2 separate regions of the Homo sapiens genome follow, and region 1 is linked to region 2. Evidence: promoter capture Hi-C in 16 types of primary human blood cells and fetal thymus (Javierre and others, 2016). All regions are on one chromosome and are shown on one strand. Each heading gives the region's core, a stretch centred on a gene start or on the middle of the fragment in contact. The rest is flanking DNA. Distances are from core to core; before and after follow the strand shown.

Region 1 (5,112 bases), core at 1,957-4,456, 2.0 Mb after region 2:
CATGTGGTCAGCCCTGCCTTTCGGATGATAAACACTCAATAGATGGTAGCTGTCATCATCTCTTACCACCCTCACAACTCGTATTTGAACCTCACCCTCCCCTCAGGCTCTCTTCAACTTGGAAAGTTTTATGAAATCATTCCAAAAACAGGCACTGGTGTCTCAGAAGCACCCAGAGTTTATAAGACAAATAACTCACCAAAATGAGTAATCTGAAATACATGATATTAACACAGTCTCATGAAAATGCACACCTACCTTAGGCCTTTGCTCTAGTTCTTCATCCTGCTGAGCTAACACTCTTACCTCCTTCCAATTTTTGTTCAGATCCATTTTCTATGGGAAGCTTGCTCTGATCACTCAGTTCAATCCCATAGTTTGCTCTTCTTCCACCTTGTATTCTCTATCCCCCTCACCTTGTTCTACTTATACGTTTTCCATAACACTTATTTCATCCAACATAATCACTTCTTTATAATGTTTATTGTTTATGTTCCCCTACACACACACACACACACACACACACACACACACACACACGAATATAAGCTTCTAGAAGTCAGGGATTTTGTCTGCTTCTGTTCACTCATGTTTCCAAGTGCTTTATATATTCCACAAATATTAATCGAAAGAACAAATATCTCTCTGACTGAATGAATAATCAGGCCATCCTTTTTCTACATAAAGATTCAGCTAGAGTAACAAACAGCTCTGCCCCTGGATATCTAACAGAGTTCAGGAAACAGATGGGAAAATTATCTCCCCACCTCTCCCAAACGTCCCTTAGTTTGAGAGAAATATAACCCAATCATTTGTGCTGCTAAACCAATACCTCTTTCAACAGTAATTCATATGCACAGTTTGTTGCACTGACTTGCAGCAATGATGAGCAGCATTTTACAGGAATGAGCTGTTCACAACAGACATGTACCTAAGTGGAGGACATAATAAGCATTTTTTAAAAATAGAAATAAAAGAAAAATAATCACACATTCCTGCTTTATCACAATGACAGAAAAACTGGGCTGTTAATATCAAAGCAAATGTAAGGCCTCTACTCCCTGAAAGTGTGCATAAGGTGTTAGTTAGAGCCAGTCCAAGCAGTTCTTCCCAGAGTGAATGCCACAGTCACGGGTAGCATCTCGCACCTTTCCCTGTGAACTCACAAATGCAAGCTACAGGGCCAAAGAACAGCAAGGTAGATGCCTGTGCGTAATTCATCCCACCAGCTGAAAGACAACCCCCTAGCTGTGGCATTGCAGCTGCTGGATGAGACACTGTCACAGCGAAAGAATACTTCAAGAACAAAAGAGAAGGGCTGCCCCTCTGCATATGGATAAAATGTAGCCTGTCAGTAGAAACTCCTGGAGCACCCATTCATCAAAAGATATTTGAGGAACAACATACTCCAAGTTCTTTACTGAGGACAGGAAGCACATCTGGTACCCCAACCTCCGTGCTGCCCACATAGTGTCCCCATGACAAGCTCAGCAAGCAAAGCCCAGAAGATCACACTGAACATCTGGCTTTTGCCCCAGCATGAACTACCACTCCCTCTCAGCCCTGCACTCTGCATTTTTTTTAAACAAGCCACTCTCAGCCACCACAAATACTTCGGTGGGAATCAGCAGGGAGGCCCTCATTCCTTGTCTCAAAATAACGTCAGCCAGAGTCAAAGGCCAAAGAGGTGGAGCCTGCAGGCCATTTTGCGAAAGTTTCAAATATCTTGGTACTGACCCCATTAAAAAAGCGTGAAGGGGAAGCAGCCAAGCCTCCAGTGGTTTTCTCATTAGTGTCCCCCCTCACCCCAGCCCCACCCCCATTACAAACGTCTGCATGGATAAGAATCAAACAAAGAGATCTTGCATAAAGTCCTATGATCAGTGCTGGCTATTGAAAACAAAATTTCATTTTGCAAACTTAATACCAAAAACTTGACATTAAAAACTTTAAAAGAAATGTGCGTGCTCTGGGACAGCTTAATCCCCCAAGAGATCTCTGAGGCATTAGTATAAGACTGAACAAGCAACTGGTGAGCTGTCCCACCTTCCCCAGAGCCTTTCTTAAATATGCAACTGTCTCAGATTTTCCATACTCCTCTGCTGGTTTTTCCTCCGAAGAGGGAGGAAGGAGACTTCTTGGTCGTACAGTTTAAGAAAGCAAATAAAGCCGCCTTTCTCCCTAACGTAGAGGAGCCCTTTCAACACACACACACACACACACACACACACACACACACACACACACGTGTACTTTTTAAAATATAAATATGAAAGAAGAGGAAGGGAGGGAGAGAGGGAGAGAGAATACGAGACAGATGAAAAGGAAATGCTACTTAATCTTGTCCAGTTTTTGAAAACCTCAAAAAAAAATCAATAGCAAACTAGGCGGAGGCATGTTATTCTCAAAACACACACTCCCTCTCCCGCATTACAGTACTGTTAACAACAGCAAATGATATTACAGATGGAAAAAGCCTCAGGGAAAAAAGCATGAATTGTTAAAGGAATACAAAGTGGCATTACTCTCATGAGAAATGTAAAGGGGCCAGCTGCCCGCCTTCATCTGCTCAGACATTAAAGTACACCTCGCCCAGGACCTCTTGATTCTGACCATGCCCTGCCCCAAACCCTGCCTTCCCGGGTCCCAGGACTCCAGCTGCTCCTCGCGTGACAACACTTGCCCGCTTTGAAAGCCCTCCTGCCCCGCCCGCCGGGTCCTCACCGTGTGGTACATGAGGGCCTCGCCGTCCCCGGGCTCTGACAGCTCGCTCAGCTTGCGGTCCCACTGCAGCACGCCCTGCTCCCCGCTCTCCAGCACCTCCATGGCGGTGCGGGCCGCGCTGGGCCGAGGATGCTAAGCGCAGGAGGGGACGCGCAGAGCTGCCTCGGACCGGCAAGGTTCCTCTCTCTCCGCGTGTGCTTGCGTGTGTGCGCGCGCGTGTCTGTAGTTTTGCACTTGGAAAGCAAACGTCTGCTCCTCTGCCGGAGAGAGGATGGCCAAGCGCTCCCGTCCGGTGTCCTCGGAGATCCGAGAATCCCCAGGGACACGAGCCGGACCAAAGGCTGCCGGGGCTAAAGCGGGATGTGCATCCAAAATGAAGGCAGAAGACCCGCTCTCATCCCAGGAAAATCCCTTAGCCGCAAGCCCACTTGCCGCTACGGCTCCAGACACAAACTTTGAGGGACCCCAGGGCTCCTCGGCTCTGCTCCAGGACCCAGCTGCGGCCCCACCTCCCTCCAAGGCTTGACCAATTGGATATCCGCCTTGCCTAGCAGACCCAATCAGAAGTCTCATTCTCGGCTTTGTCCCGCCCCCAAAGGCAGAGGCCGCGGGAAGTCTCCGCCCACGCCTTGGAATGTAGCCGGGGAGTGTCTGTGACGTCACCGAGGAACTCCTCCTGCTTGAGCGCGGCCCGCTGTCTGCTGTCGCCTACAGCTGACCAATAGAGGGCTTGGGTCCGGAAGTGATGGACTGGAGGCTTGACTAATGTGAAAGGGGCGTCTGAAAGGTACAGCCAATGAAATAGCGACAAGAATACATTTTGTAAAAGAGGGAGGGTGAGTTCAGTCCTCTTGCTGAGAATCCTCAGAAATTTACCAGCGCGCCGACAGGGGGCGCGAGAGTTGTTGCGCGGGGGGCTTAAACATTTTCGAGTACTTTAGTTCATTTGAATCTCTCGGAATTTTTTTAATGGATTACATATTATACAAAAATACAAATATTCCTCATGCACATACATTTATATTAGTGCAGCTCTAGGAAATTGTCATTGTTCTTCACCTTTTTCGCCCATTTTCTGTTGGGTTCTTCTATTTTTTATGGACTTCACTTATTGTATGTTTTTCTTTCATCTGCTTGATAAGAGTCAATGGCATGCTTTTCCAGGTCCTACAGAAGTGAGCCCAGTCCTTGAATTCATAGAGCTTTTATCTCAGAGGAGTCAGGCAATAAACAAAGAAATAAACATTTAAATTCAGAAAGTGGAAATTGCTATAAAGAAAAATAAAAGCAGGAAAACAGGATGCGTCAAGATCGATGCTATTTTACGTGCTGATCAGGGAAGTTCTTCCTAAAGGAAATGAGATTTCGGGGGAAGCTGGTATTCACGTGATTGCTGGGGAGGCCAGTGTGGCTGCAGCAGAGGTGCTTGGCAGGGAGGGGTGGGAAAGGCCAGAAAGGTGAGCCAGGGCCAGAGCACCAGGCCTGCCTCCTAGAATAGGGAAGAGATGGCCTGTTCTAAAGGAATTCCCCCGAACACTGTGATTCTTCTTCCTCCTTTTTAATTCCAAAAATATAGTTTACCTATCTTAAATATAAAAGCAGGTCTTTGCCAGTTAGCTCTAGAAGTTTCTTACAATGGCACATTCAGGTATTAGCTATTGTGTTGTTTCCTTGGCAAGTATTTTTTGGCGGGTGGAGACAAATGTCTTTGAACTCTATGTTGTCTTTAAAGCAGCAGTTTATCATATAAACTATTGCATTTGTCTGGTCCTATCTTCTGGGGTCTTTTGAGATTTTTTTTTTTTTTTTTTTTTTTTTGAGACAGTCTCACTCAGTTACCCAGGCTAGAGTGCAGTGGCACGATCTCAGTTCACTGCAGCCTCCACCTCCTGGGCTCAAACAGTTCTCCTGCCTCAGCCTCCTGTGTAGCTTGGACCACAGATGTGCACCACCACACCCGGCTAATTTTTAAATTTTTTGTAGAGGCAAGATCTCACTTTGTTGCCTGGGCTGGCCTCAAACTCCTGGGCTCAAGCAATCCTCTCTCCTGAGTCTCTCAAAGTGCTGAGATTTAAGGCATGAGCCACCACGCCCAGCTTTTGAGATTATTTTAATGCTTAAATAGAAGCTCTAGTTTATGGGCACACACCTTCCTTATATAATAGTTTTCTCATTTTTCTCTTAGGTTCTTGGTTTTTCTTTTCCAGCCTGGTATCCCCTTCATCACATTCTTTCCATAGATTGCTCTTTCCATTTTTAAAGACCTTTCTTATTTTTTTAATCTGTCACTCAATGTACAATGGGATTACATCCACATAAACCCATCATAAATTGAAAATATCGTAAGTCAAAAATGCATCTACTATACCTAACCTATCAAACATTATA
Region 2 (4,801 bases), core at 1,422-3,921:
AGGTCTAAGTGTTTCTTTAGTATTTTCTTTGTACACACCTACTCAGATAGATGCACATTACAGAAACTCAAAAAGTGAGTGTTCACAAATTGGTAGATGAAAAATGTGAGTCAATAAATAAGCAGGGAAGACAGCTGTGGGGCAGAAGAAACTGTAATAAGGACCTGAAAGTATAAATGGGCACCGTAAGGGAGCTGAGTCAGTATAAACTTCAGTTCTTGTTATTATTTCTCATTAACAAAGTGAAAGATACTTTATGAAATCTTCAAAACTAAGAAAGGATAAAGCTCAATGCTCTGTACATCAGATTACATTACAGTTACAGTCATATCTTTTTGGATAGTCCAACTTTCAATACTCCCTTTTGCTTTTTCTGAATGTCTACCCTCCCTCTTATGCAAATTTTTTACATTAATGAAGAACAGGCTACGGTAGTAATATAGGGAAAATAATCAAATTGAACATGATAACCTAACCTAATTATAAAACTAATTGGAAATAAATTAATCCATCTTTATTGGCATATATTTTCATATAAATATTTTTGTGTAGTTGAGAATTCTTTGGGCACAATTTACCTGCCTGAATGTGGACCCTGGGAATGTCCTACTAGAAATCTTGGTATGATACGCTTTCACAATTAGATCTTAGACTGAGAGATAGTGCGTGGAGCAGTTAAAGAGTTTCAGTTTTGGAGTCAGCAATTTAGTTCTTGCTTCACAATTTACCATCTCCATAACTTTTCTTAAGTATCCTGCATCTCAGTAATCTGTAAAATGGGACCAATAATAGGACTTACTTCCCAGTATTCACAAGGATGACATAAAATAATGTGTCAGGAAAACACTAAATACATTGTGTTATTTTGGTAGCTGTAAGTTCAGTTAGTACTTAATCAACTTTTTGTATTTCAAGTATATCAAACAACCTAGGTTCCACCATGACAGGAAAACAAAAGCCCACTTACTTCCAGAGTATTGCAGTGTCCCACCACTGGTAAGTGTACCAAATAATTTCTACCTTTTAGCTTTATATTGAAATAGCCAATAAGTCAAGTTTCAGTTGGCTACCAGCTGAGAAGGCAGTGACGAGAAGACAGCCTGTCCTAAAACTCCACTGCAAAAAACTAAGCAGGTAAGCAGCATCCAAAAAGTCTAAATTGTAATGGCATTAAATAAAGTAAAAACCTTCAGCAGTTTGCCTTGCACAATCCTGTAAGTTTTAAGAAACTGCTTCGCTTACTTGCTTCCTAACACAGCCTCTGAAGCAAAAACCCAGGTCAGGTCCTATTCTTTGAAGAGTTAAAATCTAGACTGGGTTCTCACACTTTTAGAAGGTGAGCAAGATGCCATCCGTGGTTGTCATAAAATTATACTTGTTTTGGAAGATTCATTTTAGATTATCACTAAATTAAAATCACATGTTAAGTTCTCTCATAATTACAAAGGCACAGTTTCAGGATGGAAAGACAGGCTAGCTTGGAATTTTAAGTTTCCCACTCTGCCACAATGTCGATTCAGTTTTATATTTGGGGCTGAGGTTTGAGTTTGTCTTTCTTCATCATGATTTTACCCCCCAAATACACTGCCACTAAACTGCATTGCTATTTACTACACATGTAAGCATTTCAGGTGAAATCAGGGAGAAGAATGGAATAACTGAAGTTAACATGCTTGTTTAAAAACTATTCAGATACCTTAAACATTCCCAGATGCCAGTTGACAACCTTACCACTTGAAGCAAATATGTATTTGTTGTGGTGGGGGAAAGGAAAAAGGCCACACCCAAAGTTAAGACACCACAGTGAAGTGATACTCAGTTTCAGAATTTTAACTATTTCTATTTTCGGTACTCTTTTCACGGTCAATGAATTCTTCAACTTCACACCAGGCCGAGAGTTAAAAAACATGTTCCTCTGATCCTAATTACTTAGGTTACTTCATTTAGTAATGGGTAAGTCCAAGATGGAGAATTACCTCATTCAAAGAAAGGTTTAAGTAACTTTGGTGTAGAAGAGGGCCAAACTCAAATGATCAGTGCGCAGAAGAAACTCTGGATGAGCCAGACACCACTCCTCCCCTCCCCCAAGAGGCCAGGAAGTCAGGTAGCGCCTAACTGTATTAACGCAGCAGTTACCTGACACAGAACGCTACCAAGTTACCTGGACCCTTCTTTCAGTTTAGCTCCTCCCTAGACGCCCCTCTCTCCTTGGTGCCGCCTCCACCCAGGAAGTCTCTCCTCCCGCCCACCCCCATCCCCGCAGTCCAGCTCCCATCAGCTTCCTCAGCCTCATCTCCAGCCCACCTCCGTGTTCTCGCCTACTCTTCTCATCCCCGCTTACCTTGGCCACATAGTCTTTCACCTCATCCAAGTCTCCGTTTTTCAGGGCCCACATGAACTCCTTGTCGCACATCACTGCAGCGGGGCAGGCCGGTTGGCCGGGCAGAAGATGAGGAGGCGGTGGCAGCAGCAAGCGGATGCCGCCGGGCGAGAGGGAGGCAGGGCCGCGCGAAGCCGGAGAGGAGAAGAAGAGAAGGAGGGTTAGGCTGCCAGGCGGGCGAGGCAGTTGGCCGCGGCGACCGTTCGGGCGGGAGAAAGAAAGTTCTTTTGCGGCCACCGGGCCCAGCAGAGAGGTTCCGCCTGGCCGAGGAGAGGCAGGAACCTTTACACTTCCGGTTCACTCCCCGCTAGGACCCTCCCCCAACTTCCTCTTCCTCTTCTCCTCCGCGGAACGCCTCTCTCTGGGTCCGCGGCGCGAACGCCACTAGTGCGCATGCGCAATGTACAGGCTGCCGGGAAGGCTAGAGTGGAGGGTAGGAGCCGGCGACAAGTGGGCGGGACTGGGAGGCAGAATGAAGGAGGCCCGGGGGAGGTCAAGACAGCGAATGGAGGAAGAGTGAGAGTACTTTCGATGGGATTAGGACGCTTCTGCACCACCATTAATGGGAAAAACTTTACTTTTTAAAAAACATAATCTTGGAGGGCATCTTGCTCAGCTTCTAAAAATGTATAGGAAGAGTGTTTAATTTGAATTCCTTCTTCCTTGCCTTTTCCCCTTCCCTCCCTCCTTTTCACCCCTCCCTCTCTCCGTCATCCAGTCTGACTGGGCTAAAAACGATGGAATAACGCTATTCCTGCCCTCCAGGAAATCTTCAACACTAAAACTACAATGTAAATTGAGTGTGTTAACACTATGTATAATGTTCCCTGGAGCAAAAAACTTAAGTGTGTGGCAGGAAAAAAAAAATTAACTCATCTTCCTGACCAGCAAATGACGTCCAGGCATTCAGTTTGATGCCGTAAAGTGGAGCAAACCAAACTGTCTAGTACAATTTGCGTTTTTTAAATTTACTGTTTGTTTTTAATGGTTTGAAACTTCAGGACTGTTCTGGTGAAGTCAGTTCTGTTCTTCCTAGGGTTTAGTTGTAATGCCATAGTGCATAGCTACCACTTGAATTGTTCCTCACAACCCTAATGATCCAGGCATGCGCACATGAACATAGATCCAATAAAAGCTCTTATTGGAGCTAGAAATATACGTATAATATATATACATATATAACTATTACTATATATAAAACTCATATATATAATCTATTATTTGTAACCCACTAAACACATTAACTAAGCTACTTTACCACCATTGCCGTACAGTGTAGGGGTTCCAAACAGACTCTGGAGCCAAATTGTTTAGTTTGCGATACAGGTCCCACTTCTTGCTAATTTTGTGTCTTCTTGGGCAAGTTACTGAACCCCCTTCTGCTTCAGTTTTCCACTTGTGTAAAATGGGGATGTCAATAGTGTTTGGAAATGTATTTTTTTTTTTTTTGCTATCATTTAGAGTAGAATAGCAAATGGGTTTCAAATCAGAAGAAATCCCTCCAAATATTAACATCTACCTAGATTGTCATTTGTTAATTTTACTCCCTGATAATTAGAAATACAAATCCACATACCCAATAGTGATACGATTTCTGGAAACAAATCTCAAGGGGGAATTTGTTAGGCAAGTCCTAGAATCTCCATCTCTTCTCCAACACACTCCCACCTGTGTGATTTCTGAGTTACATCATGCTGAGAGCTCTTGATTTATATCTTTGGCCGGGTGCAGTGGCTCATGCCTGTAATCCTAGCACCTTGGGAGGACAAGGCTGGAAGATCGCTTGAAGCCAGGAGTTGGAGACCAGCCAGGGCAACAAAATGAGACACCATCTCTACAAAACACAAAGATTAAAAAAATTAGTTGGGTACAGTGGCGGACTTCTGCCTTCCCAGCTACTTGGGAAGCTGAGGCAGGAGGATTACTTGAGCCCTGGAGTTTGAGGCCACAGTAAGCTATGATGGCACCACTGCATTCCAGCCTGGGTGACAGAGCAAGATCATCTAAAAAAAAAATCTTTAACTAGACTTTTCCTATGTGATCTATTCTTATATTTAACTTCTTACTCATTTGGATTTCTCAAACTTAACATGTCCAGAATAGGATCTGGTCTCCTGTAGATGTTAAACCTAGTTGTCCCCCACATATCTCTGTAAATGGCGCTGCCAACCACCCTATCACTAAAACCAGAAACATGGGAGTCATAATCACTCTTCCCATTCTCAACTTTTCTCTTATTCAATCCATCAGTAAATATTTCAAAATATGTCTTAAATTTGTTCATTTCTTGCCATCTTCACTATTACTACTCCCTGCACCCTCACATATCCCCCATCCCTGTCACTGTCATCTCTGTCTACACTGCTATGATGCTATGTGCTATGATAGCCTCCCTGTTGGTGTCCTATTTTCACTCATCCT

What was found. Contacts are between HindIII fragments. The CHiCAGO score rates a contact against its expected background, and 5 or more counts as called.
Region 1: the fragment with the promoter of CREB3L2 here is called in contact with the fragment with the promoter of MTPN in region 2 in 1 of 17 cell types (neutrophils); the score reaches 5.0 in neutrophils.

What each region holds. Positions count from the first base shown.
Region 1 is chr7:137,998,880-138,003,991 of GRCh38, forward strand. CREB3L2 (cAMP responsive element binding protein 3 like 2) reads right to left here and starts at 3,207. Exons shown (of 12, transcript NM_194071.4): 1 at 2,725-3,207. The coding sequence starts at 2,826. It overlaps LOC124901752 (a long non-coding RNA gene), which reads left to right and starts at 3,428. Exons shown (of 3, transcript XR_007060551.1): 1 at 3,428-3,511. RefSeq lists enhancers at 2,232-2,830, 2,747-2,886, 2,831-3,428, 2,977-3,066, 3,157-3,226 and 2 more. The HindIII fragment of the contact is 8,216 bases long and covers 548-5,112 here.
Region 2 is chr7:135,974,688-135,979,488 of GRCh38, forward strand. It overlaps MTPN (myotrophin), which reads right to left and starts at 2,672. Exons shown (of 4, transcript NM_145808.4): 1 at 2,342-2,672. The coding sequence starts at 2,413. The HindIII fragment of the contact is 14,647 bases long and covers 1-4,801 here.